7 separate regions of the Homo sapiens genome follow, and all the other regions are linked to region 7. The links are contacts of gene promoters, found by promoter capture Hi-C in blood cells and fetal thymus (Javierre and others, 2016). All regions are on one chromosome and are shown on one strand. The core of a region is centred on a gene start or on the middle of the fragment in contact, and the rest is flanking DNA. Distances in the headings are between cores, read along the strand shown. Region 1 overlaps NDUFAF2 (NADH:ubiquinone oxidoreductase complex assembly factor 2). Region 2 overlaps NDUFAF2 (NADH:ubiquinone oxidoreductase complex assembly factor 2). Region 3 overlaps NDUFAF2 (NADH:ubiquinone oxidoreductase complex assembly factor 2). Region 4 overlaps NDUFAF2 (NADH:ubiquinone oxidoreductase complex assembly factor 2). Region 5 overlaps NDUFAF2 (NADH:ubiquinone oxidoreductase complex assembly factor 2). Region 6 overlaps NDUFAF2 (NADH:ubiquinone oxidoreductase complex assembly factor 2). Region 7 holds the start of LINC03122 (long intergenic non-protein coding RNA 3122).

Region 1 (4,178 bases), core at 27-2,526, 600 kb before region 7:
ATTTGAGCCACATACTAAAAGAAACTGATTGGTGTTGGATAAAGAGGTAAATGCTAAGTAAATCTTTTCAAAATTATTTGTTATTAAGTTATTATTAATCATCCAAAAAGGGTGACAAAAACCAATAACTCCATAACATTTGAGGTCATGTTTCTTAATTGATGCTCTCTTTGCAGCTATAACTTTTTTTTTTCATTTCATTTTATATGCTTGCTGTCATTTGCCCATTTCTCTTCTTTGCATGAATGCTTTTTTGTTTATCTTGTTACATGTGTTTTTATTTATAGAAGACAAAGTACAATGTGATACTTCTTCATTATTACTTGCTAAATTCCTTGTTTAAATGGTAAGTCCCTATTTTAATATAGTTTTGGGGATAAATTTACTGAAAATATTCAGTGCTTATATTTTCAGTTTTGAATTTATTCATATTGTGACAGTAATTGGTAGAAAACTGTTTCTCACAGCTGACAGGCCAAAAAAAAAAAAAAAAAAGTCTTGGGGACAAAGCTACCACATGCCAGAGTGCTGAGGACCCATCAGATATTTAAGGAAGTGGCATTTGTACTCGCATTATTTAAGTTACTGTTGAAAAAAAGAGATGGGAAGAGACTATATTTGTAACAAGCATATTATAGAATTCATTTTCTAAAAAATCATGTTTCTGAAGAATAGAACATCTATCAGATGTTTTATAAAGCACATGTAACTAATAGATAATAGTTCTTCTCCAAAAGAACTGGAAACCATGAATGCTATCTTTTTTAGAATCCCAAAATTTAAAGAAATATTTCTGCTTCCTAGAAAATAGTAATTAAGCCCAAATTTCCAACTGAATCTCAATCAATAGTTGTACTATTTTCTACCACAGAAATGCTATTCAGTAAATGGTATAAGTGATGATATAATGTATACTTAACTTCTGTTTTGCCAATTAACTTAGATCATTCTCAAACTGTGATTTAGGGGACGGCTGGTGTCCTTAAGAATCCCTCAGGTGGTGAGATAGCCAGTCATTAGTTTTAATGATTATGGCTGTATTTCTCTTTCTGGCAAGGATGAATAATTATGCTTAGTAAGAACCATAGCATCTCATTGATTTCTCATCAAAGAAAACAAACATTGCCCTTAATTCTGATGAGGTATGCTGGACAAACAGGAATGGGTGGAACAGTCATCCCTACTTTATTTTATTTTTAATAGTTTATGAACTAAATTTTGAGGAGCCATTACTATAGATCAAGATACTATAACTCTTTAGAACTTTGAAGATATTCTGTTAAATCATCTCAGATCCATTACTGAAATGAAGACTTTAAAACCTTCTTAAGAAGTTGCTAAGCTGTTGAACACTTGAACTTGAAGTTTACACAACCTGGCAAGTATTTTTTTGTTCTTTTTCCTCATACATGGTCAATATAGTGGGTTGAATAGTGTCCCCCCAAAAAATGTATATCCATTTGAAACCTCAGAATGTTATCTTATTTGGAAGTAGGGTGTTTGTCTATACAGTTAAGTTAAGATGGGATCAGATTATGGTCGACTCTAAATCTAATGACTGGTATCTTTATAGGAAGAGGAAAGGACACACACACACACACACACACACACACACACACACGCGCGCGCGCGCGCGAAAGTTGAAAGCAGAGATTGGAGTAATGCAGCTACAAGCCAAGGAAGGCCAGGAGCCACTAGAAAAGGCAAAGAAAGATTCTTCCCTAGAGCCTTCAGAGGACCCTCCCTCCCTATACTTTCATTTCAGACTTTAGCCTCCAGAACAGAGACAATGAATTTCTGTTAAGTCACACAATTTGTGATTCTTTGTTATGGCAGCCCTAGGAAACCAAAATAGTCAGTATTCCTGAACATTCTCCCATAAATATATATTTTTTTGCCTTTTTTTTTGTACAAATTTCTATCATTTACTAAGCTATGAAGTACTTGAGAGGAGAACTGTGTCACACTCATTCTATACCTGATTTCAGAACCCCACAAGTATTTATTAGCATATAACTGTGGGATAGTCTTATTTTTTAAGATTCACAAATATATTCTTCATGAGAACACGTTAGTTTTTATTAAGTATGCATATTAGAGAGAGACTGGAGTATAAATAACTGTAAGGATATTTTGTATGAAAAAATAATTGTAGATAATTACCAGGTTTGGGTTTCTATAGTTAGCAAAAGTAGGATAACTGTTGTTATCATGTTTATGTCCCATTCATATGAAAAATAAAATCCAAAGTGGGTTTTAAGTAAATGAAATCCCTAAGGGACTGTCAACCTGAATTATCCAGAGAATATTCAGTTTGTCATAATTTTGCTCCAATATTATAGAGCACAGCTGAAAATAACTGCTTAACTATCAAAATTCTATCCAAAGCACAGATCATTTATAAAGATTAACATTTAGTAAAATGACTTACAAATGTGTTTAAAGTAACATGGTATTTTATGAAGAGCTAATATTCAGAAGTAACATCTAAGAGGATATATACAAATTTAAATTTTTTAAACTTTAAAGGATTGGATTATAGCTTACATTTCTGAGATATGAAAAATTACCATCAAGTAATATTCTTATCTCAATGTAAACATATTCTCCATTTACTAGTATAATTTTTATCTCTCTTTAAATAGAAGTAGTTTTATAAGTATTTGAATATTTTTGATCGAAGAGTTGAAATACTACCAATAGAGGTACTAATGACTATTTGAGGTGGTTGTAGGTTGTTTTTTCACCCGTACCAGTTTTTTTCATGAATTTTAATACACAAAGATTCCCAGTGTTGGTTTTAAATTCTTACAGGCTAAGAGAGACTTAGTCTTAGAGAGATTGTAGGTAAGAAATATAATTAATATTTTAACTCATTACTGAGAATAGACCAATACTTTCGAGTTTAAAACTTGGTAGACTTAACTATGTGACTCTTTCAGTTACTGCAAGTAATAAATTATGAATTATAAGCAACGTTTAGTTTATCCAATCAGGTGAATAAGCATCACTTGTAATGGTTAAATCTTTATGTGTCCATGGGCAGACATTCAAGTTATCTTCTACTAATAAGGAGAAAAGAGTCATTGTTCTTAGTTGGTAGGTGACATTTTTTCCCAGATATTTGTTCACCATGTGTCTTAGAGGAAAGTGAAGATTTTAAGGGCTACTTAAAAATTATTTTCTCTCCGCTTTCCAACGATGCTTTCACATGCCATGAATCAATCTAAAAATCCCCATTGCAGTCATGGGCAAACCAGATGTGCTTCTTGAAGTCTGACAGTTTTCCTGACATATCATGTGAGTGAATCATATGGGTAACATTTTTCATAATAAACTCCAATTTGAAATCCAGGTATGACCACGTAGATTTGTCACTAATACGCTAGAGTCTTTTTTAGACTATATTTGTACTTTTGGACTTAGAACTATTATTTTAAATACCTAAATTAGCACAGTAACTTTGATAGCACTGTTTTAGCCATAGGAGATTATTTAACCTTATTCAAAATTCATTGGTCCTTTATAAACAAATAATTCCATGATTATAATTTAAATTTTTTATAAACTCACATGATCATTATTAGAGGACCAGTTCCATAAATTATGGTACATTTACACAATGGATACAGCTGTTAAAAAAAGATATGTTCTATGTATTAATATGAAAAAATCTTCAACTATATTATTGTATAAAAAGGAAAAGTACAGAACAATTTGTAGAATAAACTATTTGTGGAAAAACAAAAGTGAGGAAATTCTATGTATGTATGTATTTGTGTGTAATATATATATAGAGAGATATACATTTATATTGACTTTATATGCATAAAAATAATCTGAGAAAGGATAAACTAATAAAGAGGGGTTGCCAGTTGTGTGTGTGCATGGGTGGGAACTTACCAGATGGGACTGCATGAGGGAGTTTTTTTATTATATACTATTTTATGCTTTATTCTTGAACCATGTGAATATATTAGTCCAAATTTAGACAGATAGATAATGTTCTGTTTTTAAAACTATGGTAGTGAATTCTGTTTTATGAAAAATCCAGTAAACAGAAACCAACTTTAAAAATGGTTACATTCATTCAGACAATGGGATATTATTCAGTACTAAAAATAAATGAGCTATCAAACCATACAAAAACATGGGGAAACCTAAATGCATATTACCAG
Region 2 (4,155 bases), core at 332-2,831, 580 kb before region 7:
CAGATACTGATTTCAGATTTTTCCAATACCTTTGCCAGCCAATAAGTGGTGCTATTGTCACAGAATAGTTAGGTTGTTCTGCAGCACAAAGCAAAGGGGGAAGATGTGGAAAGTATATGCCAAGTGGTTGTAAAATGGGTTGTGAAAAGGAGGCAGAAATAAAAAAGGGAGGCAGCATGAACCTGACTATATGTGGACACTGTTTTTGTAGTATAGGAGGTGATTATGCTAGTACATTTTCTTAAATTTCCATGTAAAAATTAAACATAATTCAAGACACACCTTTCCTTATCCATTCAATTTTCTTTGAGCTTTAGTTTCCTCAATTATAAAAGTGAAGATTGTTGTGAGAATTAAGAAAATAAAAATAAAGTGTCTATTAATATCATATACATAATGCTCAATAAATATAATTCTGCTCATCTAAATGAGTCAGATAACATTAATAAGCCAAATTAACATAATATTATTGACACGTTGCTAAATTAGCCTAAATTACATGATCTTCAGAACCTGGAAGCTTATAAGAAAGTAGCAAGAAATAGGGAAAAAATGTTGAGCTTTGTCATTTGCTACTAAGAATAAAGAATTGTTCAACTCCAATTATTTTATTCTTTTGTAGGTAAATATCCAGGCATGGGCTATCAGTACATCCTTGAGTAGAGAGGCAGGCTCCATTTTTATATGCACTCTGTTTTTGGAGACCCCCATCTTAAAGTAATACCATGTGGCATATCTTACTATTAGTGACTGTAGTGTTTATCTTTTTGAGCATCATTGAGAAATAATGAATAAGTAGGTAAAAATTGCAAGATTAATGGTCTTTTTGCAGCCTTCACAAGCAAAATGGAATCAACTTTTCTTTTTCATGCTCCTACAGCCTGCCTTTTGGTGCAATCACAGCTTATTAGCATATCTTTCTAACAGCGAACTAAAATAGAGAACAAAGATAAAATTCATGTCATCCAATTTTGTTAGTTATTAGCCAGGGTAAAGTTTGTCATAGGAAGAGTTTAAACGAATGACTAAAATCATATGATGCTATGGCTGGGCACGGTGGCCCACACCTGTAATCCCAGCACTTTGGGATGCCAAAGCAAGAGGATCACCTGAGGTTGGCAGTTCAAAACCAGCCTGGCCAACATGGTGAAACCCCGTCTCTACTAAAAATACAAACATTAGCTGGGCATGGTGGCGCGTGCCTGTAATCCCCAGCTACTCAGGAGGCTGAGGCATGAGAATCGCTTGAACCAAGGAGGCCGAGGTTGCGGTGAGCTGAGATCACGCCATTGCACTCCAGCCTGGGCAACAGAACGACACTCTGTCTCCAAAAAAAAAAAAAAAAAAAAAAAAAAAAAAATATATATATATATATATATATATATATATATATTTATATGGTGCTATATAAAAACTTTTGATGGAATTTTCTATCCTGTCTTTCCTTTTACTGCTGGTAATTGGCCTCAGACTACCTAAATCTTTCCCTTCACAGCAGCCTGCAGTTCTGGGGAGTCAAAGTATTAAAAATGCCTCTCCAGTGAAGGCCTGCTTGCTTGATGACAAGTGAATTGGAGAGTTGTTTTTCCCTCTTGTTGTTCAGACTTCTTTGTCTTTTCCTAAGCACTTCTTATTCCAACATGAGAAAATGACTTCTCACTGAACTCATCCTTTCTGAACACTGGAAGCAAGCCTTAAATCAAGTTCTAGCTTTAAATCATAGATTCACAGCTGAAGTAGGCTTTACATGTTCTTGGAAAACAGGATTGTAGGGAAAATGCTACATTGTCTTACAACCAGTTACTCAGTAGTTTGTGAAAGATTGCTTGACTAACTAAATGAAGAATAGTATAGGGAAAGAAGTAAATGTATGGTGGTCTTTCTGCCCATTGGCAAGATCTTGATTTTGTTTAGTAAATGAATATATGTATTCACAGATGGACTGGGGAATCTCAGAAGTACAGTACTTGGTCTGAATCAATGATTTTCACAGGACTCTTTAGAATCCTAGGAGTGTGAGGAGGTAACTACATGTAAGGGGAGGGGAGAAAAGGTGGGTGGTACTCTGAACCCCTCCCTTAACCAGAGAGGCTCTGCTTGAATAGTTTTGTAAATTGAACCTCTAAAGAGGATATTTTTAAAGACAATAGTTTGAAAATTATTGGCATCCGAGACTTTTACCAACTAAACCCAATTTTTGAGCTTGGGAATCTGGTTCACAAATACTAGTGTAGTTCCTGTTAACTTGATAACTATCACATTTCATTAGATGATTATGTGATCTCCTTCTATATCAGAATGTTTCTATTTATTAGTGATCAGTGGTGCCTGGTGGCTAAATTAAATAGATTAATGAAGGGTATTAGTAATTTCATGGATTAATAAATATAATTTTTTAAAATTGAGAACTAATGTACCACAAAATGCAATCTGTTTATTTTTATTAAATTATTCATATTTAAAACTGCCACATATTCTGTGAATTAGTAACAGTAGATAACAGTACGGTCTTTGACTCTTTTATGGTCTGTGATTAATGACCAAGTATTTGATTTCTATGAAACCATTTGGGTCTAGAAGTCAATCACATAATCAGCTGTATCTGCTACATTTCGAATCTGAAAATAAGTTTGGGCTTGGCCCAAGCTTTTCACATACTATAATTTTATAATTCTCTAAATTCTAGTAATATTTGCCATCATTTTTAATTATTTCCTTCCATCTCTCTTTTTACCTATATATTGAAAGCCCTAGTGTTCAAATTAGATTTTCAAAGTGAAAATTAAATACTTGATTATATTATTTTATACCACACTATGAATATTTACTAATTTTGAAAGAAAATACTCTTTTTATATATATTTTTATATCAAGGGTGTACCAGATTGGAATTTGTTTGCTTGAGTCACTATAAAATAAGATTTCCAATCACATTCATAAATGTCCTCTTATTGTAAAATAGTTTTGTTAAAACTTGAAATTCTTGTATAATGTCTTAAAGCCTATTTAATTTAGCTAAAAAAATTTTCATCCCCGCCTTTTTTCCTTCCTTTTTGTGTGTGTTTAAGACATCTTAACTCATGTTATAATTTAGATATATTCATAGCAGAATCACCTAATATTCATTTTTCTGACATTTTGTTAAATGTTCACATTTTCAATTATGAATATACTTCATACATTGTAGACAATTTAGCTTTACAAAAAAGTATAGAATGTATTAAGTGAGTGAAGTACTTTCAAAAGTTGATTTCTACACATCAATCAAAACCTGAAATGACTACTTCTTTCAGCTCTTCATAGTGAACACATTATTACATGGACTAAATAGTCATGCATTCATCATTTATATTTTTTGTTTGAATGGTTACCTTCTTTTGGAGAGTAGATCAGGTGTAATTGTAACTGCTTTTTCAGCAGATCAAAAATTCCTTTCAGTTTGGAAAATAAATGGTTTTTCAACATAATATTCAAGTGTTATTTCTTTGTTTTTTAAAAACAGTTTTTGATGTGTGATTTCCACAGTAATGGAAGGGAAGTAAATGAAGTAAAGGCATTTCTAAGACTTACATGTTTGATTTGGGAATATAATCAGAAGACCTGCTTAACTTTTAATTATAAATCTTCTTAGATTAATGCAATAGACTATTCAGTGTATATTTGTTGGTTGAATTACAGATGTTTTTAGAACTTTGAAGTTTTGTTTGAATATAATGCTCTCATGGAACCTTTAAAAATTAACGGTCAATAAGAGTTTATTGTCCTTGTGCAAAGCACAAACACAAATTTACAATAGGTTAATCTTTTTTCTTAAATTGTGATATTCTTATGTATTTTCAGATTGAAATTTTATTTGTGGCTTTAAAAAAAATTCATTAATGAAGTCCAGTTTAAACGTAATATTGGTGTGCTATAAACTTGCCACAGGACATTTTCACTAATATAGGAAATAGGTTACTTGGAATTGTTCTGCTGTCTTTCTGGGTGTAGTTTAAGACCTTTTATCTTTTCAGATCTGAAAAGCTAAATCATATTATATAAAGCATTTCAGAATAACCAAGCATTTTGATATAATATTGGATTTTCTGTGATAGAACAAGTTGAGATTCCTTATAGGACACTTGTAAATATGAGGAAGCTAATAAGATTTTAGGT
Region 3 (3,822 bases), core at 852-3,351, 620 kb before region 7:
GTGTGTGTGTGTGTGTACACATGCACGCATGTGTGTGTTTAAGAGATGAGGTCTCGCTGTGTTGCCCTGGCAGGCCTCCAACTCCAGGGCTTAAGCAATCCTCCTACTTCAGCCTCCTGAGTAGCTGGGAGTATGATCTTTATTTTTTTGAGACAGAGTCTCAACTCTGTCGCCCAAGCTGGAGTGCAGCAGCACAATCTCTGCTCACTGCTCACTGCAACCTCTGCCTCCTGGTTCAGTGATTCTCCTGCCTCAGCCTCCTGAGTAGCTGGGATTACAGGTGTGTACCACCACGCCCAGCTAATTTTTGTATTTTTAGTAGAGATGGGGTTTCATCATGTTGGTCAGGCTGGTCTCGAACTCCTGACCTCGTGATCCGCCTGCCTCGGCCTCCCAGACTGCTGGGATTACAGGCATGAGCCACTGCGTCCAGCCTTTTTTTTTTTTTTTTTTTGCTATTTAAAGAAGTTTCCAAATATATTAGGAAACTTGATTTGGTGTTACTTTTATTACTCGTTTCTCATTTCTAACTTTGTGGCATAGTATTAGTTTCCTATTGCTGCTGTCAGAAATTACTGCAAATTTAGTGGCTTAAAACAACACAGATTTATTATCTTACAGTTCTAGAGGTCAGATAGCCAAAATTAGTCTCTCTGGGATAAAATCAAGTTGTTGGCAGGGCTGTGTTTCTTCTTGAGGATCTAGAGGATAATCTGTTTTTTTCCCCTGTTCTAGCTTCTAGAGCCTACCTGCATTCCTTGGCTTGTGATCCCTTTGTCCATCTTCAAACAGATCTGTCGCTGACTCTCAGACCTCTGCTCTTCCCTCACATTTTCTGTAACTCTGACCCTTCTATCTCCTTCTATAAGGATTCTTGTGATTACATTGAGTCCACCCAGGTAATTCAGGATAACTTCTTCATCTCAAGGCCCTTAATTTAGTCACATATACAAAGTCATTTTTGCCATGTAAGGTAACAGTCTCAGGTTCCAGGAATTAGTACATAGACATCTTTAGGACGCCCTTATTCTGTCTATTCACATTATTTATATCATTTTCCTTCCCCCACCTTTCCCACTCTGTTGTTTTGGATGTTATACATTCTGTTTCTTTTCCTTGGTATTGATATTATTTATGTGTTTAACAGTATTTAATATTATGCCTTTTTACCTTTGCATACCATGCTCATTTGTACTTTCCTTGCTTGTGTTGTTTAGCATTTTAGTTTCCCTTTGTTTCTAAATGCCTTCTGCATTAATCAGGCTTCTCTAGAGAAACAGAACCAACAAGTGAGAGTGAGATTTATTGTAAGGAATTGTGATTGTAGAAGCTTGGTAAGTCCACAATCTGCAAGATAGGCTGGTGGGCAAGAGACCTAGGGAAAAATTGTGGTTCTAAAGATATTATGTTGGCAAAATTCCTTCTTGTTCAGGAGAGGTTGTCCTGTCTTTGTTCTCTTATGGCCTTCAATTGGTTGGATGAAGCCTGTTCACATTATGGAGGTTAATCTGCTTTACTCAAAGTCTACTAATTAAAATGTCAACCTCATCTAGAAAACAACTTTACAGAAACATCTGAATAACGTTTGTCCAGGAATCTGGGTATCATGGCCCAAACAAATTGACAAAAATGTTAACTATTACTCTTTCCAAGTTACTTAGTTTTTCTGTTACTGTTATTATCAATATTATGTACTTATTTAACTTTCTAATGTGTTTACCAATATCTTTTCTCGTAACATATTCTTGCATTCCATTCTCCTTTCTATGCTCAGTTTTCCTTCTTTACACATATATTTCCCAAGAAACTGGGAGAAATAAATTCTCAGTTTTTATTTGTCTGAGAATGTCTGTTTTCCTCACAGACCTGAATGATGGTTTAATAGGGTATAGAATTCTTGGATAACACTTATATTTCCTTAGCTCTTTGAGGATATTATTCTGTTGTTTCCTAGCATTTGTTATTGCGTATGAGACATCTACCTTTAATTATCTTTTCTTTGTAGATAATCTGACCTGTCCTTTGCTGGTTGTTTTTAAGATCCTTTCTTTGCCATTAGTGTTTTTGTTGTTGGTGGTGGTGATGTTGTTTGTTTGTTCGTTTTGAGACGGAGTCTCGCTCTGTGGCCCAGGCTGGAGTGTAGTGGCGTGATCTCAGCTCACTGCAACCTCTGCCTCCCAGGTTCAAGCGATTCTCCTGCCTCAGCCTCCCAAGCAGCTGGGATTACAGGCGCATGCCACCACACCCAGCTAATTTTTGTATTTTTAGTAGAGACGGAGTTTTGCCATGTTGGCCAGGCTGGTCTTGAACTCCTCACCTCAGGTGATCTGCCTGCCTCAGCTTCCCTAAGTGCTAGGATTACCGGCGTGAACCACCATGCCCGGCCTGCCTTTAGTGTGTTACATTTTCACTGTACTTTATTTAGGTATGAGTTTCTTTTCTTTTAATTTATTTATTCTGATTTTTGTTTTTCCTAGACCCGGGAAGGGATTCATGTGGCTCATCAGTTTTGGAAAATGTCAGCCACTGTCTTTTCAAATAGGTGTTCCCCCCTTCTTCTGTCATTTCCTTCTAGAATGCCTAGTAAAGATACAGATTGTATTCTGTCCTCCATATCAGCTATTCTAATCTGTCATTCCTTGAGGTTTTCTTTTTCTTAAGTGATTTTTTTTTATTGAATTTCTCTTTGGTTCTTTTAAAAATATTTTAGTTCTTTTTTTTGCATAACCAGTGTTGTCATTGTGGCTTTTCTGTCTTTGAAAAATCATTCTAAACATTTTTACTGGTTTAGTCATTTTCAGATTCTATTTATAGTTTTAGATTATTTTATTTGTAGTATTTGAAGGGTAATTTGCCTATTTATTACATCAGCTAAAGCTTTCTCCTCGTGATGGTTTCTTCAATTTATAATTTTTTATTATGAGCTCATCTTTACTAGGGACTATGTATTCTATGGAAGTCCAGTATAGTATGTGAGTATCTTTGTGGGACTATTTACATCTACATCTTTTGGTCCTTAAAAATTTCAAGGGTCCAGTCAGATTTTATGTTACTTTTAAATTTTACACCACGGAATTATGTAAATTTAAAACCCTCACATATATAGGATACTCTTGTAGAGTTTTTTATGTTTTAGTGGTGACTGTTTTCCCTCTCTCATTGAAGGCTTCAAATTAATGACTGGCTTCTTTCCTCTTAGAGTTCATGGGCCACGTTTTTCTAGTTAATTTTTCTTGAGTAGCACACCTCTTTGATTCTGTGAGCTTTAGGTGGATGCTCAGTTCTTGATCCCCCACCTCACATCAGCTATGGGTATGTTTTCACTCCTGCAAGTGATTTAAAGGTGTATGTCCAAGCACTTAGCCCTTAAAGCCTAGAGCTGAGTTTGAAACCCCGGGGATTGCTACAGTGTCTGTTTAAGCTTATGGCTCTGGCTTTGACTTCTATTTGTTTCCAGCACTTGAGGAATTTTTGTTTCTTATTTTTAGCAAAGTATTATTTTGAAAGTATTTTATCCAGTATTTCTCTGTGTTTGGAGCAGGAAGGAAGCCCTTACATATTGGCTTGGACTATACCATGTTATAAGAATTTTCTGTTTTTTTTAACATTGATGTAATTTGATTGACTCTTAATTTCTTTCTATTTTAAGGATATTGGTTGATTCTCTAATAGCTTTTTAAAAATTCTGTTTTGGGATTGTTTTAACTTTTCTTTTCCCTCCAGTGCGTTTTTCAAACATTTTTTGTTTTGTGTGTATCTGGTACCTAATAAATATTCAGTAAATGTTTTCTAAGTGAAAATAAGTCAAATGTTTAGTTTGTG
Region 4 (3,714 bases), core at 445-2,944, 520 kb before region 7:
AGCTAAATGTAACATGTTATCCTAGATTGGAGAAAAAACTTTGCTGTAAGGAAAAGTATTGAGGTAACTGGTGAAGTTTGAAGAGGAACCTTATTAAATAATAGCATTATATCAATTTTAAATCTCCTAGAAAAAAGGAAAAGGATGCTGTTATATTCCCTTTGTGATATCGTACAACGAGACAACTGCCTCTTCTCTATCCATTTCAAAACTAGAAATTTACTCATGGGAAAGAGAAAATAGTCCAGACTATGTAGCACTGCTTTCCTAATTTGAGAGAAGATATACCATTCTGAAAAACAGAGGAATTAAATGAACATGTACATACTGAAAATGAGACCTCTAGATCTTTTTCCCTACTGGGTTTTCAAATGAAGACAAACAGGCCTTTATGCTCCAGGCAGAGTATTAGAAGATTCGTCTTTGCGGACTCTTACCAACCAAGAAAAAGGACCTGAAACCCTTATTAGGTTATAGTGAAACTGAGCTTGCAACAAGCTTCACCTGTGGCATCAAAGTTTCCAGCTAGATTTACCTAGGAACACTAGACATCTGAGAAATGAAAAACAGAGACCCATACAAATAAATAGGGTAAAACACTTGGATAAAACAGACTACTTAAAAACTTAAAATAACTGCTATCCTCAGCGATTCAAGAAGTTACTACAGTCATGAAATGAGAACTTAATGTTCCAAAATAAAAGGAATATTTAACAAAAAGGAGTACTTGGAAAAATAAAAATATAATAGAAATGAAATGTTTAACTGAAGGGTTAGAACCTTCTATTCAATTTCCTGTAACATAGGGCAGAAAGAAACAGAAAATAGAAAAGAAAAATTAGAGGACTAGTAATACTAGAAGCTAGAAGACAGAGAAGTAACGGTGCTTTCAACATTCTGACAGTTCTAGTCTAGAATTCTATACCTAGTTTTATGATTTAAGCTTGAATGTAGGCTAAACACATTTTAGACATGCAAAGTCTCATAGAATTATCTCCTACAAACCCTTTCTCACAAAGTGACTAAAGGAGTAAACAAAGAAAAAGGGAGGGGTGAGATCCAAGAAATAAAACTGCAGCATTGGCAAAGGGTACTAGAGTATGAAAGGCAACCAGTCCAGGCAGAGTGAATGGAGAGATTTTTTTCCCCAAAAACATGAAATACATAGAGTACCTGATACATCTGAACATACCAAGTGGGGCTGAATTATCGATAAGTACATGAGAAATAAACAAAATTCATTTATTTGCGGAAAAAACTTGGGAAGGAAAAGGAAAAATAATCATTTTCTACTACATAACTCACTTGTTGACAGTGTTTACTCATAATATGTGAATCCACAACTATACTAGGGTATTAGGGAACACAAAGAATAAGGCAAACCCTCATTTTCAAAAATGAGAAGTTAATATATAGTGCCTAAAACTGAAAAAATAACTAACAGTTTTAAAATATTAGTTAGCTATTATGGAGTGTTTAAGTGCAGAGCCTGCTTTGTAACTGTCAGACACTTTTAAGGCTCCTTGGTTTGGCCTATACTATGACCATAAACATCAGCTTAAAGAATATAAAGTATTGCTTTTGAGAAGAGGCAACTATTATTTGTCATAACAAGCCTTTTAGAATGAAATGGCCCTACAATAAAAAGATGTATAATTTTTTTAAGAGACAGGGTCTTGCTCTGTTGCCCAAGCTGGAGTGCAGTGGCACTGTCATAGCTTACTGCAGTCTTGAACTCCTGGGCTCAAGAGTTCCTCCCACTTCAGCCTCCCAAGTAGCTGGGGCTGCAAGTGCACACTACCATGCCTGGCTAACTTTTTTTGATTTTGTAGAGATGGGGTTTCACTATGTTGCCTAGGTTTATCTGCAACTGTTAGACTCAAGCGATCTTCCCACCTCAGCCTCCCATAGTGCTGGGATTATAGGCGTGAGCCACTGTGCCCAGCCCAATGCATATGATTGACTTTTTTTTAAAAAAAAAAGAATGTTAAAAAGCACATATACAATGATATGGATGAGCAGTGGCAATTTTTTTCGGCAGGGTATCAGATAGCAAATATTTTAGGGTTTGTGACCCAAATGGTCTCTGTTGAAACTACTAAGCTCTGCCATTGTAGTATGAAAGCAGTTATAGATGGTATGTAAATAAGTAAGTGTGGCTATATCCAATAAAACGTTATTTACAGAAACAGTTGGCAGGTGGATCCTAGTTTGTCAATCCTGGTAATGATCAATGGTTTTCAAATTGGGATGCCTATACCACTGGATACACAAAGACTTCCTATGGGATATACCATTATGAATAGCTTTAAAAAATTAATTTCCTCATTCTCTCTTTCTATATGGAGTCCTTCCTAAAAACTATCTACCTGAGAACTCTTTCTGGTCTGCCAGTTCTCCTTTCTCACTTCTTTCAAAATCATCTGTCTCCCACTTTTCAGAAGAAAAGCTTACCCCTTTTCCGTACTAAATCTTACTATGGTGTCTTGCCTTGCAGTTTAAAAATCTCCCGGGCACCACACAAGGAGACAATTGGAGAGTGAATCTCTCTTGAGGGATAGTCCTTTGAGAGCAAAGCAAAGAAAGCATCAATAAAAATTAGTGAAGGGGTAATACATTATTTCATGCAGGCAACAAACTCATGGCCAGGCTCCGTGCCTTATATTATAGTTTCTCTGTCTACCTAGCTAGCTAGCTGTCCATTTATCTATCTTAAAATTAAAATTCACAAGTGAGAAAGTTGTCATGGGGATGAATAATAACACGTTTATTTGAATTTTAAAATTAAGTCAGACTTTTTCTGACAGATAGTAAGTCAGATTTGGCTGGTTGAGTTTGACAATGAGGACTAGCCTTGCCAATTAAGTTATATTGTTATATTCTCTGTGTATTGAATAAGCTGAACTGCAGCTCCAAGGCTTTGACAAAGATATACTTAAAGCATGCATTCAGTATACAATAAGCTAGAAAATGCATCCTTTGTCATTACTTAAGTGTCAACTGAAATGTGCAAGATGGTGCATAGTTTTTCAAAAGTCTTTGAAGATAAAATGTGCAAAAAACGAAGAAAAAACACTGCTACTATTATTTATGGATATATAGAGATATTGTAAAAGTATGAAAACATTCATGAAAATGATAGATGAGAAACCGGGTAGTTATTATCTCTGGGGAAGGAAAATGTTAGGGTTCACAGTCATGGAGAGCTTTGGTCATGTCTGTAGTGTTTTATTTCTTAAGTTGGATGGTGGGTTATAGGTGTATGTTATTAGTTATGTTTATTTTTAACACATGAAATACTTTATTTTAAAAGAATATACCGAAACCTTATAATTACATATTTTAAAAGAACATATTGGGTCCCTGATAGAAAAACAAGTTACTCAGGATAAACTGAAAAATGGGATACTTGAAATTTGAAAATACCAAAAGCACTTGAGGAATTGTCACAGTAATGTGCATACAGAACGAATCAGTATAGTTTAGTTCTTGAAAGTCCTTTTAAAAGCCTTAAGGCTTATATATTTGCATTACTAATTCAAATACTTATCATCAGGCATCTGGTATATGCTCAAGAGCTAACAATTTCTTTGCATGTAGACTTCTTTTGTACATACCAACCTGCCCTGGACACTACACTAGACATAACAGTTAATATATGTCTATAATTTAGATTCTGTTTTTAGTATTTTTTTTCTATATGAAAATTGCTCT
Region 5 (4,226 bases), core at 639-3,138, 540 kb before region 7:
CAGGACTTTGGGAGGCTGAGGCGAGCAGATCACGAGGTCAAGAGATCGAGACCATTCTGGCCAACACGGTGAAACCCCGTCTCTACTAAAAATACAAAAATTAGCTGGGCGTGGTGGCGAGTGCCTGTAGTCCCAGCTACTCGGGGGGCTGAGACAGGAGAATTGCTTGAACCAGGGAGTCGGAGGTTGCAGTGAGCCAAGATTGCGTCACTGCACTCCAGCCTGGCAACAGAGTGAGACACCATTGCAAAAAAAAAAAAAAAAAAAAATCTGTACAAGTTTTGGCTAGAAATTGGCCAAATAGGAGTAAAAGCTAATAGAAACAGAATACAGGCTGGGTGCAGTGGCTCACGCCTATAATTCCAGCACTTTGGGAGGCCAAGGTGGGAAGATCACTGAAGGTCAGGAGTTCAAGACCAGCGTGGCCAACATGGTGAAACCCCATCTCTACAAAAAATACAAAAATTAGCTGGGCATGGTAGCGAGCACTTGTAATCTCAGCTACTTGGGAGGCTGATGCCAGAGAATCACTTGAATCCGGGAGACAGAAGTTGCAGTGACCTGAGATCACACCATTGCACTACAGCCTGGGTAACAGAGCGAGACTGTCTCAAAAAAAAAGAAAGAAGGAAACAGAATGCAGAAAGAATAACAAGGGTAGAAATTTAGAAACAGTAGTAGAGAATGGAGAACACTGGAACTGTATTGGAGATACATGTAAGGGATAAGTGCAAGAGAGAATAGAGCAGGGGGAAATGACTGATCCCAAGCCCGCAGTTGAATGTTGCTGTTTCCACCCCCACAAACCATTCAGTGCTGGGCTTTTTATGAAGACAAGTCCTGGTGCTATTACAGATGATCCTTGGTTTGCAGTGAGGTTATGTCCCAATAAGCCTATCATATGTTGAAAATATCATCATGTAGAAAATGCATTTAATACACCTAGACTACTAAACATCATAGCTTAGCCTAGCCTACTTTAAATGTGTTCAGAACACTTACATTAACCTACAGTTGGGCAAAATCATCTAACACAAAGCTTACTTTATAATAAAGTTTTGAATAACTTATGTAATTCATTGAATAAGTACTGAAATGAAAAACAGAATGGTTTCATACCATGGTAAAGTCAAAAATCCTAAGTCAAACTACTGTAAGTCAGTGACAGTCTGTGCCTAAATGAATAAGGCTGGCTGTTAGAGCTGGTCACAAGAGATAGTGGCTGGTGAATGGATAAAGCTAAGACTTTAGAGCCAGTTCAACCAGGGTTTAATTCCCAGTCGCTAATTATATGGCATTAGGAAAGTTTCTTAATCTCTCTGGGCCTCAGTTTCCAAATCTCTAAAATGGGATCAATAATTCTTATTTTTCTAACATGTAGTTAGGGTCACACCTAGCCTGGCTTTCTCTTTCTGGTTTAATATTCTTTGCATGTTGTTCATAAACTTTGAAAGACTGCTTAGTTGAGCGTGGATGGTTTTTAGAGCCAGAGACAGGGTCAGATCTGAATTCAAATACAACCATTACTACTTAATGTATAAATTTGAGGAATTCATTTTATTTCTATTTCTTCAATTTTGTAGTGAAGAGTGAATCAACTGAAATGATAAAACAGTGGCCTTCAAGATCATATTCCCTACAATATATTTTCTCACAGTCTCCTATACAACATTGCAGGCTAAGCAGATATTATTGATCTTTTGTTTTTTGAGTCTTATTTTTAAGAGATTTATTGAATAATAGTAATAATTATACTAATAACTTAGACTTATGTGCCAGGCTTCAAAGTAAACATTTATGTATATTATCTTATATAATTTTCACAACAACCCTGAAGTGTAGATACTTTTATAATTTCCATTTTATAGATGGGAAGCCTGATGCTTAGAAAATTAAATAACTTGCTCCAGGTGACACAGACAGTAAGTGATGAAGCTGGGATTTGAACCCAGAAAATCTGACTTTAGAATCTCATAAGCACTATACTATACTGTCTTCCATGTGATTCTGATAACTTCCCTAAAGGCAGCTGCCCCACTCCCTTCCCATTGCTGCAAAGCATCCAGCACAGTACCCAGGCCCCAGCAGCCACTTAACAAATGTGGGCTCTATCTCTGCAGCCCATCTGCCAAGTGTTAGAGCTAAGGCCTGATGATATTTTTGCTTGCTGGAGCAAATCAGAAAAGAAACCTCTGTAAATGAAAAACTTTTCTAAGTCCCTTCCTTTATAAATTGAACAGTAACTAATTCAAATTTCCAGAATAATATAATTTTGATATTGTCTTGAAGTTTGCTGTATTTTGGTTTGGCTTGTATGCCATAAATATACCCAGTCGAATTTAGATGATTAGGAGGTATGATTTTAAACATATGAAACTGTCCCCTCTTTATCTTCTCTACACTATTATATTCTCTTCATGACACATATCACCACCAACCATATGTTTGTGTGTTTATTTTCTGCAACCCCTTCAGTAGTACATGTGCTACAGTAGAGAAGGGACTTAATCTGTTTTATTCCCTGCTGTATCTCCAGTACCTAAAATAATATGGAGTAGGTACTCAAAAAAATTTGTTTTATGGATAAAAATGTTTGTGTAAATTATGGGAAACTGACATTTAAATATTATTTTTCTTTCTAGCTTGGATTAGAAGAACAAGAAAGACTCCACCTACTATGGAGGTAAGACTACACAAGGAGGATATCATTTAGGAGTATATATTCCCAAGGATATACGAAGCTTCAGAAAAACTATGATGTATTTTCTCAAAGTGTTGATTTTATTCCATCACAGAAAATAACTTAAAACATTTTATAATAAATTAATATATAAACCTATATTATTAATAAAATAATATATGATAAAATAAATGCTCATATTATGGAATATAACAAAATTTGTATAAATTTTAAAGTGAAATAATAAAAATTTAAAACAAAATTAAAACACTCTGTAGAAAGTCTGAACTTGGAGCAGTTTGCACCAGGTTATTTCCCCTGGGCCCTGGGGGTTCTCTGTGCCAATACTCAAGCTTTTGTGGAAAAGTTTGAGAAACACTGAATCTCTTTGTCTTGTCCAAATCATGCTCTTATGTTTCCCTTAATATTATGTATTTAAATCCATCAAGTATCCAAAGAAACTTTAAAATACAGAATTAGCAATTATTTTATAACAGTAATTATTAGTTGACTTTTTATTTAAAACTAAAAAATTTGTAGTCAGTGATAAACAATAAAAAAACATAGAAATGCTATGGTATATATGTTTTACAATATAATTTTTATATAGATTATTTTATAAAAATTATAATTTTAATTTTAAAAATATGTAAAGACCTCTAAAGTTATTTTATAAGAAGTAATTTCATAAAAGGAGAGTCTCTAAATGCATTAGTGTACTGCCTTGTTTACTTTTTGTCTAGAGGCATTCCCTTTCTTCTACTATTTAGGACTTCCCTCCTCTCTTCTGTTGCCTATTCTGTCACTACTACAAGCCCTGATGACAACATAAATGGGCTCCGGTACTCAATCCCCATTTGTTGGGAAGTGGAGTGCTCTAGAGCAGGATAATGATGATACCTCAACTGGCATGCTTATGTTTATTTGCTCCATACATTTGTCATATACTGAACCCATTAATGTTCATTCGGCCAGGGTCTGACTGAGTACATCTCTTGACCCATTTCTAGCTTTGTATGTTGCTTCTGCCTTGGCCTACTTTTCGCAGACCCTTCTTTCCAACATTGATAAAATTTGGAATAAAAGCTGTTTTGGGGGGAAAAAATAAAAGGCAATATGATCCAGGATTCAGAAGTATGCCCAGTAGTTTACAGTGAAGGATGGATTGAAGAGCCTTCTGATTCTCCTTCTCTTGGTCATAATAAGAGCTACTGTTATCATTTGCTTCATCCATCCTCAGAACTTTGAAAGCCTTATTCATAGAAACATTAATATGCAAAGTGATTAATGGAGGCAATTGCAATAGTTGGGCCTCAGGCACAACTTCTGTAAATTTTAGGTAATTTCAGCACCTCAAACAATCTCTAGCCAGAACACACCAAGTCCTTCCATCCCTGAGCTCACTCTTGTTAATTTTGATTATCCAAAATGAGCCCTCTTTTGTTGCCTCCCTTTAAGTGTACTATCAATCACATTGTTCTTTATGCTGCTTCGTACCCTCCCTAATACACACACACACACACACACACACTCTTTTCCTTCCTCT
Region 6 (4,138 bases), core at 642-3,141, 560 kb before region 7:
TTGATTATTAAAATATTTTTTATTGGCCATTAGTGCTCTATAGGATTAATTGGTTGCTCTTTTTCTGTACATTAAATCTAGATTTATTTATTTATCTATTTATTTATTTATTTTTTGAGATGGAGTCTCACTCTGTAGCCCAAGCTGGAGTGCAGTGGCTCGATCTCGGTTCACTGCAGCCTCTGCCTCCCGGGCTCAAGTGATTCTCGTGCTTTAGCCTCCTGAGTAGAGTAGCTGGGACTACAGGTGTGTGCCACCATGCCTGGCTAATTTTTTGTATTTTAGTAGAGATGGGGTTTCACCATGTTGCCCAGGTTGATCTTGAACTCCTGAGCTCAGGCGATCCACCCACCTCGGCCTCCCAAAGTGCTGGGATTACAGGCGTGAGCCACTGCGGCTGGCCTACCTTTAATTTTTGTAGGCTGTGGTAAATAATTATAAATTTTTACAGTAGTTTAGAATTTGCCTTTTGTAATATACCTAATTCAAAATGGAAATCTATTCTCGTTTTCCTGTTAATTTAATTCTTTTACTATATAAGGGGTTATGCAATATTCAAAGATTAATTGTAGAACTACTGTATCATAGGTTCATTTAAAAATGTATTAATGACTTTTGTCTTATAGGACAAACTATTCGAGAGAAAAGAATTGTAGAAGCAGCAAATAAAAAAGAAGTAGACTATGAAGCAGGGGATATTCCAACAGAATGGGAAGGTAAGTTTCTGCTTTTAGTAGAATCTCATGGGAGGTAAGTTATATAACAGTATACAAATTCAATAAGAGCATATATAGTTATATACTGTTTCTCTTTGCAAAAAAGTTTTAGTGTCTGAATGTTTGAAACTTTGTTTTTTTAACATTGCATTTCTTTGAAAGTTGTGAAGGTGCTGAATTTTAGTAAGCAGATGCATGTATAGCAAAAAGAACTATTAAGCATTATCAGAGCTGAGACTAAGGTGAGGCAAGCCAAAATCCTAAGATGCAAAATTTAAGCAGGCACTCACTTTCATGTAGTGACCCAGCACTTGCACAATCCTAGGATTTGAATCCTGTTTCTGGCACTCATTACACACATGAACTTGCAAAGTAACTTAAACTTTTAGTTTTTTCTTTTATAAATTATGCATAATACTTGCTGTAGATACCATTTGGAGTATTTTTTCAACTCACAATAACTCTATGATAACTGACTGCCTGTTAAGACAAGGATGGATGCTCGATCCCTTTCCTAAGACTTTGAAGTTAAAATAAAAGATCAAAGGGAGACAAACAGCAGCAGTTGGTCTCTCAGTGTGGCTCTAACAGTAACATATGAACTTAGTAGCTTGTAAGTGGTCACCTTCAGTCTACCATCAAAGTTTTATTGCATAAAAAGCTAATTGATTTTAGAAAAGCTAATATTGCAGAAAAAGCTGATTTACTGAGAAGAAAACGGAAACTAGTTCACAATGAGAAGTACATAGAGAGAATATTTCCTAGTTTTCCAACAGCTTTCTGGTTCCCAGTTCAGTTTCTCTCTGAATGAAGTTCATCTGCAAGACTGAGTTCAAAATGGCACCTCATAACCATGTTATGTATTTCTGTTTTTTGCTTACCAGTTCCTAGCATAGTGCCTGGCACATTGTAAGGCACCTAGTAGGTAGTTAATCAATATGTATTGAATACCTGAGGCCGGGAGTGGTGACTCACGCCTGTAATCCCAGCACTTCGGGAGGTCGAAGTGGGCGGATCATCTGAGGCCAGGAGTTCAAGACCAGCCTGGCTAACATGGTGAAACCCCGTTTCTACTGAAAATATAAAAAATTAGGCCAGGTGTGGTGGCTCATGCCTGTAATCCCAGCACTTTGGGAGGCCAAGGCGGGTGGATCATGAGGTCAAGAGATTAAGATCATCCTGGCCAACATGGTGAAACCCCGTCTCTACTAAAAATACAAAAATTAGCTGGGCATGGTGGCACGTGCCTGTAGTCCCAGCTACTCGGGAGGCTGAGGCAGGAGAATCACTTGAACCCGGGGGGCAGAGGTTGCAGTGAGCCAAGATCACGCCACTGCACTCCAGCCTGGTGACAGAGTGAGACTCCATCTCAGAAAATAACAAAAAATTCAAAAAATTAGCCAGTCGTGGTGGCACAGGCCTGTAATCCCAGCTACTCGGGAGGCTGAGGCAGGAGAATCGCTTGAACCCGGGAGGCAGAGGTTGCAGTGAGCTGAGATTGCGCCATTGCACTCTGGCTTGGGCAACAAGAGCGAAACTCCGTCTCAAAAAAGAAAAGAAAAGAAAAGAAATACCTGAAACTGGGTAATTTATAAAGGAAAAAGGTTTAATTGACTCACAGCTCCGCATAGCTGGGGAGGCCTCAGGAAATTTACAATCATGGCAGAAGGCGAAGGGGAGGCAAGCACCTTCTTTGCGTGGCAGCGGGAGAGAGAATAATGAAGGAGGAACTTCCAAATACTTATAAAGCCATCAGATCTCATGAGAACTCACTCACTTCACAAGAACAGCATGGGGAAACCGCCCCCATGATCTAGTCACCTCCCTCCTTCGACACAAGGGGATTACAATTAGAAATGAGATTTGAGTAGGGACACAGAACCAAACCATATCACCCATTTAATAGATGGAGCACCTAAGGCCTAAAAAGGTTAGTTAATTTACCTGGGTTATATAGCTTCATACGTGGGTAAACAGTAGACTCATTGCTTCTTGGTTGGCATAGCATGATACCTTACATGTGGTAGCTATAGGCATTATGTTACTTTTATGCCAGCATGTGAATGTAAACATCATTTCAGTAAAAATATTTTTCCATTTCTGCTTACTACTAGAACTATGAGGAAAAAAAAAACCATAAAAATAAGTAGATACCAAAGGTTTTTTGAAGAAATACAGAATATAAATTGGCAACTTCTAGGAGGGGTAATTGAGCTTTCTTATTTTAGCAGACTCTCCAGTGTTATAAACTACATTTACAATTCTTGGATAATGCGTGCACCTTCTTAGAATGAGTTTGTTTTTATCATTTTTTCCAATAATAGTATAGAATTAAGATGTTTATAGAAATGTTATAAATAAATGAGTACGTAATGACTCATTTTTCAGCCTTTGAGACTTTCAGAGAGTTTGAATGAAGTTCTAATCTTTTTATGGCTGTCCTGATCTAGTAATTTGGCATAACTCTCCCATGGGACATATGTTTAAAACAAATGTATCAATCAAACACTAAACAAAAATTATTTTTATGGTGGTACACATCAATTAAATGTGAAAAATAACTCAGCACCATGAAAAAGTAAATTAAGTATTTTCAGGTTCAGATGAATATTGTATTTGTCAATTTTACTGGGACCTGCAAGTTGCATATTCTCCCACAATGTAGATTAAACAATGTGCCCTTTTTCTTCGTTTATTTAGTAGGTATCTATTAAGGACCTCTACATTCATAGAGCTTATTTTCTAGGGTGGGAGAAAGACAATACACCAGATAAATAACTAGACTATATTGTATGTTAATGGCCACAGAAAATAAAGCAGGGAAAGGGCATAGGGAGTGTTGGGGAAGGTTTTGCAGTTTTTTTGTTTGTTTTTTAAGATGGAGTCTCGCTCTTTGCCCAGGCTGGAGTGCAGTGGCGCGATCTTGGCTCACTGCAGGCTCCACCTCCCAAGTTCACGCCATTCTCCCGCCTCAGCCTCCTGAGTAGCTGGGACTACAGGTGCCCGCCACCACGCCCGGCTAATTTTGTTTTTGTATTTTTAGTAGAGAGAGGGTTTCACCATGTTAGCTAGGATGGTCGCCATCTCCTGACCTCGTGATCTGCCCGCCTCTGCCTCCCAAAGTGCTGGGATTACAGGCGTGAGCCACCGCGCCCGGCCGTTTTGCAGTTTTAAATAGTGTTCAGAAAAGGCTTTACTGAAATGACTTCTGAATAAAAACAGAAGGAGCTAGTCATGCAGCTAACCAGCTGAAGAGCATTACTGGAGAGCAAGTACAAAAGCCCTGAGGCAGGAACATGCTCAGATGTTTGAAAAACAGCAAGGAAGTCAGTGTGATTGGGATAGAATGAGAGAGAAATTAATAGATAAGGTTAGAGAGTTAATAGGATTGTGAATCTGGGGGGCCTTGTAGGCCATTTTAA
Region 7 (4,217 bases), core at 1,191-3,690:
AAATTAAAGATGGTTTAAGAGTGTATCTCTCAAGTCACTGTCCTTGTATTTGACAAAATTTCCTGGCCAGGGTTAAAGTCTGGAATTCTAATCCAAATTTTCCTCATTTGGACATGCTGAATCAAACTGGCCACTACAGAGACAAAGAGTATGCTTGTTGACTTTGAAAAACTAAAAACGCTTTGTTCCTAATGACTAGGGAGCAGTGACCTGGGAGACTTGATCTGTTTGGTAACTGTGGGCGAGAAAGACGAAATATATCTCTTTGGGTCAAGACTTAGCATTTGTAAAGTAAGGAAGACCACAGGATGTTATTCAAAGCCTTTGCCAAGGCTTTGGTTGGAAGATTTAATGGAATCCACAGGCAGAGAATAGGGTGAGGGTAGGAGGTGGGGATACAGGTTAGGAAGGTTGGTTTATCCTTTCTGTTCCCAGGGGCATTTCTTCTATCAGGTCATTCCCTCAGCTGCAAGGCCTCCTGTTTGCCTCTAATGCTACTTCCAATCTGTCCATGCTGCAGGGCCCAGGTTATACTATATTGCCTCTATCAAGTCTTCCCGGATCACTTTAGCATGCACCAGTAACTCATTTTCAGAACTCACTCATTTCCTGAACTCTTTACTCATTCATTAAACATGTCATGTTACAGAATATTTCTCTTCTGGTATTTCACTCATTTTGCTCCTAAATTTTATCTTGAGGAAGCAGATCAGAAAAAAAGAAACGACATAGACTTTAAGGGCACATTGACTTCACTTGAATCCTGCTCTAGGGCCCCTGCCTTGCAGAACTCCAGGGGCCAGTTAGATAGCATGCAGTCCTGACTGGTTCTACCACTCTGGAGCAACTGTCTATGACCACCTCAAATCCATTGTGGAATGCAAATGGGGCATACTGTATTAGTTTCTATTGCTGTTCCAACAAATGACTACAAACTCAGTGGCTTAAAATAACACAAATGTATAACTGCTATAGTTTAATATCCCCTCCAAAACTTAGGTTGAAATTTAGTTGCCATTGTAACAATGTTGAAACATGGTCTTACAGGAGGTGATTAGGTCATGAGGGCTCTGCCCTCATGAATGGATCAAGGCTGTTAATCACAGGAGTGTGTTAGTTATCAAAGGAGTGGGCTCCACATAGAAGAATGAAGTTCTGGTTCCCTTCCTCTCTCTCTCTCGCATGCTCTCTTGTCAGGTAATGCCTTCTGCATGTTATGACACAGCAAGAAGGCCCTCACCAGATGCAGCCCCTTGATCTTGCACTTCCCAGCCTCCAGATCCATAAGACAAATAAACTTCTGTTATTTATAAGTTACCTAGCCTGTGGTATTCTGTTACAGCAGCAGAAAATGGACCAAGATATCTTACAGTTTTGGAGGCCAGAAGTTCACAGTGGGTTATCAGGGCAGGGCGTCTTCAGGAGGCTTGGGGTGGAGGGGGAGGAATCTGTTTTCTTGCCTTTTCCAGCTTCTAGAGGGTGCATGCATTCCTTGACTCATGACCCGACATCACTCCAATTTCTGTTTCCATTGTCACATCCCTGTCATTCTCACTCTTATCTTCCTATCTACCCCCTTATTAAAGACCATGGCAATTACACTGGGCCCACTCAGAAAGTCGATAGTAACATCCCCACTGCAAAACCTTTCATCACCTCTTCAAAGCCCCTTTTGCCATTTGAGGTAACCTATTCACAGCCTTCAGAATTTTTGAAGGAGGGGAGGCATCATTCTGCCTGCTATATACATAGTCTTTGGATCTCAGTTTCCACATCTGTAAAATGGAGAACTACTGTCTTCCCCACAGGGCTATTGAGATGATTGAATGAAGTAATTTCTGCTTATGAATTCCCAGCTCTGTGCCTGCCATGGAGGCAGGCAATTCTGATCCATGTTCTCTTCTGAGTGGGTTGTCAGCTGGAGGCCTTCTACTTCTTTCTAATCCATTAGCTTCTTGCTAGTGCTGCGTCCCCAGGAGGAAATCAGTAAATGCAAGAAATAATTACCTTGACAATGCCTTGCACATAGTAAGTACCCTAAAATAATTCATTGAATTGTTTGTTATTTTGGTGTTAATGGATGGGGATCATCTGATTAAATGTTATTATTTATTAGATCTAAAATATAAATTTGGATTCTTCTGTTGCACTTTTACCTAATTACTCTAAACACCAGTGGGAGAGAGGAATTAGTCACAATACAACTTAAAGAAAAAAATATCTTGCTGTCACTGACTTCTCTCCTTGGTCTGAAAACTTTCTGATTTTGTAGGATGCCACTGACTGCTCTTTCTGCAACTGAAAAATCTCTCAAAGGGCCCTGTCCAGTTAGGTCACACAAAGCCAGGCTGATTATTTAGAGAGAACACAATGCTCCCTCACATGGGGCACAGAGAGGAAGGAATTTTTTTTTTAAGCCAATTCCAGTCCCTGGAGCTGCAAACTGCCCTCAGGGCAAAGAAGCCTGCAGAATAATTGGGAGGAGTCTGGCAGGAAGGAAGCCAAGGTAAGTTAAGCTGCATTTCTGTCTATAGCCAGGGTCTCCATGCCACTTTTTAAACATCCCCTTCTGGGATAAACCTGTATGTCAAGATAAACAATTAAATAATATGCAAGGGCCAAATCAGGAAAACTGCAGCTTCAGCCCTAGAAAACAATGCCAAGAAACACCAGCCTGTCTGCCGCTGCTAAGTCGAGGAGATGGGTTCCCATGATTCCGTAAGAGAACTGGGTCAGGGAGGAGACACTGTCTGTTTAGAATATGCTTCAGGCCCCTAAACTTGGTCGGTTTATGCTTTTTCAGGTTAATAAAGTGGAAAATAACTTTACCTCATCCCTCTATCAAAGCATAGTGCGGCTGCCCCAGAGACCCCTAATACAGCCAGGGATGATGTGTTTGGAAAATGGGGCAAGAGAGGGTCCAAAGATGAGACCCCAAAACTGTGAGGGGGAGGTTGTGTGAGGAGGACAGACCAGAGCTGGAGGGGGACTGTGAGAAGAGGAGTCTGGTTGCTGCCGTCTCTGAAGGGTCTTCCTAGGCTCCCACACCATCATGTCTTGGCCAGCCAAGGCCAAGTGGTTGTGTAAACTTAGGATGGTCATAGAATCCTGAACTACTAGCACATGGGGGTTGAGCTTGTCTGAGGATCTTTTTGAGGAAATGGGGGAAGTATTATTCATGTAATGTGTGACCAGAGTATAGAAATCATGATCCCAGCAGATGGCATGAACGGACACTGAATAGTCCGAATGTCTCATCTCTCTGGACAGAGCAGGCTGGTGGGATCTGGGCAGTCGGGCTGGCTGAGGAGGCATATTTCAGAGTCCAGAGCGAATCCCAGCAGTAATGCCTGGGAACAAAGCCAACTGGTGCCCAGGGCAAGCAGCCCAGTTCTGGGGTCAGGCTACCAAGGTTGTACCAGGCAAGAGAAGAAGGGTGAGCAGGGGAATATTCAAGAGCATCCAAGAATGCAGGGAGCTAATGAGCATGGGAGTGCAGAACTGAGGTCAGAAGGCGTGGCCAATGGAAACTCCCAGCAGCCCTGTGCAGGGGCTCTGCGGATACCTGCTAGCTCTTGGGGCTTAAGCACGCAGTTCGGGACTGGCAGCTCAAAAATGTCTTGAGCAGATTGGCCCCTCAGATAAAGTGGGACACACAGTCTTTTTTTTTTTTTTTTTTTTTTTGAGACGGAGTCTCGCTCTGTCGCCCAGCCTGGAGTGCAGTGGCGCGATCTCTGCTCACTGCAAGCTCCGCCTCCCGGGTTCACGCTATTCTCCTGCCTCAGCCTCCCGAGTAGCTGGGACTACAGGCGCCCGCCACCATGCCCGGCTAATTTTTTTGTATTTGTAGTAGAGACAGGGTTTCACCATGTTAGCCAGGATGGTCTTGATCTCCTGACCTCGAGATCAGCCCTCCTCGGCCTCCCAAAGTGCTGGGATTACAGGCTTGAGCCCGGTTGGGACACGCAGTCTTTAAGAAGTACTTAGGAAGGGCAGTCAGGCTAAGCAGTGGGCTGTACTTTGGGACCCTTTTGCCACAGAACAGAGGGCAGCCTCTGAGTCTGGCCGTGTGTCGTAATTCCTGTGTTGGAACAGCCCCACCCTAATGAGGGCATTTAGATATTTACTTCCATCTACACTCTCCTTGGGTAGGGCGGCAGCAGAAATAACTGGCTTTGAGGCCTCCACCTTGCAGGGTCCCCTTTTTCACTACTAAC

Evidence for each region. The method cuts DNA at HindIII sites, captures the fragments that hold promoters and counts their contacts. A CHiCAGO score of 5 or more calls a contact.
Region 1: a fragment that was not itself captured here is called in contact with the fragment with the promoter of LINC03122 in region 7 in 4 of 17 cell types (monocytes, naive CD4 T cells, naive B cells and 1 more); the score reaches 8.0 in monocytes.
Region 2: a fragment that was not itself captured here is called in contact with the fragment with the promoter of LINC03122 in region 7 in 17 of 17 cell types (total B cells, naive CD4 T cells, non-activated CD4 T cells and 14 more); the score reaches 16.2 in total B cells.
Region 3: a contact is called between a fragment that was not itself captured here and the fragment with the promoter of LINC03122 in region 7, in 9 of 17 cell types (neutrophils, naive CD4 T cells, naive B cells and 6 more). The highest score is 9.1, in neutrophils.
Region 4: a contact is called between a fragment that was not itself captured here and the fragment with the promoter of LINC03122 in region 7, in 6 of 17 cell types (neutrophils, fetal thymus, monocytes and 3 more). The highest score is 6.1, in neutrophils.
Region 5: a fragment that was not itself captured here is called in contact with the fragment with the promoter of LINC03122 in region 7 in 10 of 17 cell types (total B cells, naive B cells, non-activated CD4 T cells and 7 more); the score reaches 7.6 in total B cells.
Region 6: a fragment that was not itself captured here is called in contact with the fragment with the promoter of LINC03122 in region 7 in 16 of 17 cell types (neutrophils, total B cells, fetal thymus and 13 more); the score reaches 14.3 in neutrophils.

What each region holds. Positions count from the first base shown.
Region 1 is chr5:61,038,667-61,042,844 of GRCh38, forward strand. All of the region lies in intron 1 of NDUFAF2 (NADH:ubiquinone oxidoreductase complex assembly factor 2), which reads left to right. Among named protein-coding and RNA genes, the nearest start is that of NDUFAF2, 96 kb to the left of the region's middle. The HindIII fragment of the contact is 8,800 bases long and covers 1-4,178 here.
Region 2 is chr5:61,055,561-61,059,715 of GRCh38, forward strand. All of the region lies in intron 1 of NDUFAF2 (NADH:ubiquinone oxidoreductase complex assembly factor 2), which reads left to right. Among named protein-coding and RNA genes, the nearest start is that of SMIM15-AS1, 100 kb to the right of the region's middle. The HindIII fragment of the contact is 2,126 bases long and covers 519-2,644 here.
Region 3 is chr5:61,020,559-61,024,380 of GRCh38, forward strand. All of the region lies in intron 1 of NDUFAF2 (NADH:ubiquinone oxidoreductase complex assembly factor 2), which reads left to right. Among named protein-coding and RNA genes, the nearest start is that of NDUFAF2, 77 kb to the left of the region's middle. The HindIII fragment of the contact is 1,547 bases long and covers 1,329-2,875 here.
Region 4 is chr5:61,115,709-61,119,422 of GRCh38, forward strand. All of the region lies in intron 3 of NDUFAF2 (NADH:ubiquinone oxidoreductase complex assembly factor 2), which reads left to right. Among named protein-coding and RNA genes, the nearest start is that of SMIM15-AS1, 45 kb to the right of the region's middle. The HindIII fragment of the contact is 1,506 bases long and covers 942-2,447 here.
Region 5 is chr5:61,096,350-61,100,575 of GRCh38, forward strand. NDUFAF2 (NADH:ubiquinone oxidoreductase complex assembly factor 2) reads left to right here. Exons shown (of 4, transcript NM_174889.5): 3 at 2,643-2,683. Among named protein-coding and RNA genes, the nearest start is that of SMIM15-AS1, 64 kb to the right of the region's middle. The HindIII fragment of the contact is 1,702 bases long and covers 1,038-2,739 here.
Region 6 is chr5:61,072,499-61,076,636 of GRCh38, forward strand. It overlaps NDUFAF2 (NADH:ubiquinone oxidoreductase complex assembly factor 2), which reads left to right. Exons shown (of 4, transcript NM_174889.5): 2 at 627-716. Among named protein-coding and RNA genes, the nearest start is that of SMIM15-AS1, 88 kb to the right of the region's middle. The HindIII fragment of the contact is 6,746 bases long and covers 1-4,138 here.
Region 7 is chr5:61,635,341-61,639,557 of GRCh38, forward strand. It overlaps LINC03122 (long intergenic non-protein coding RNA 3122), which reads left to right and starts at 2,441. Exons shown (of 2, transcript NR_126525.1): 1 at 2,441-2,506. The HindIII fragment of the contact is 4,932 bases long and covers 1-4,217 here.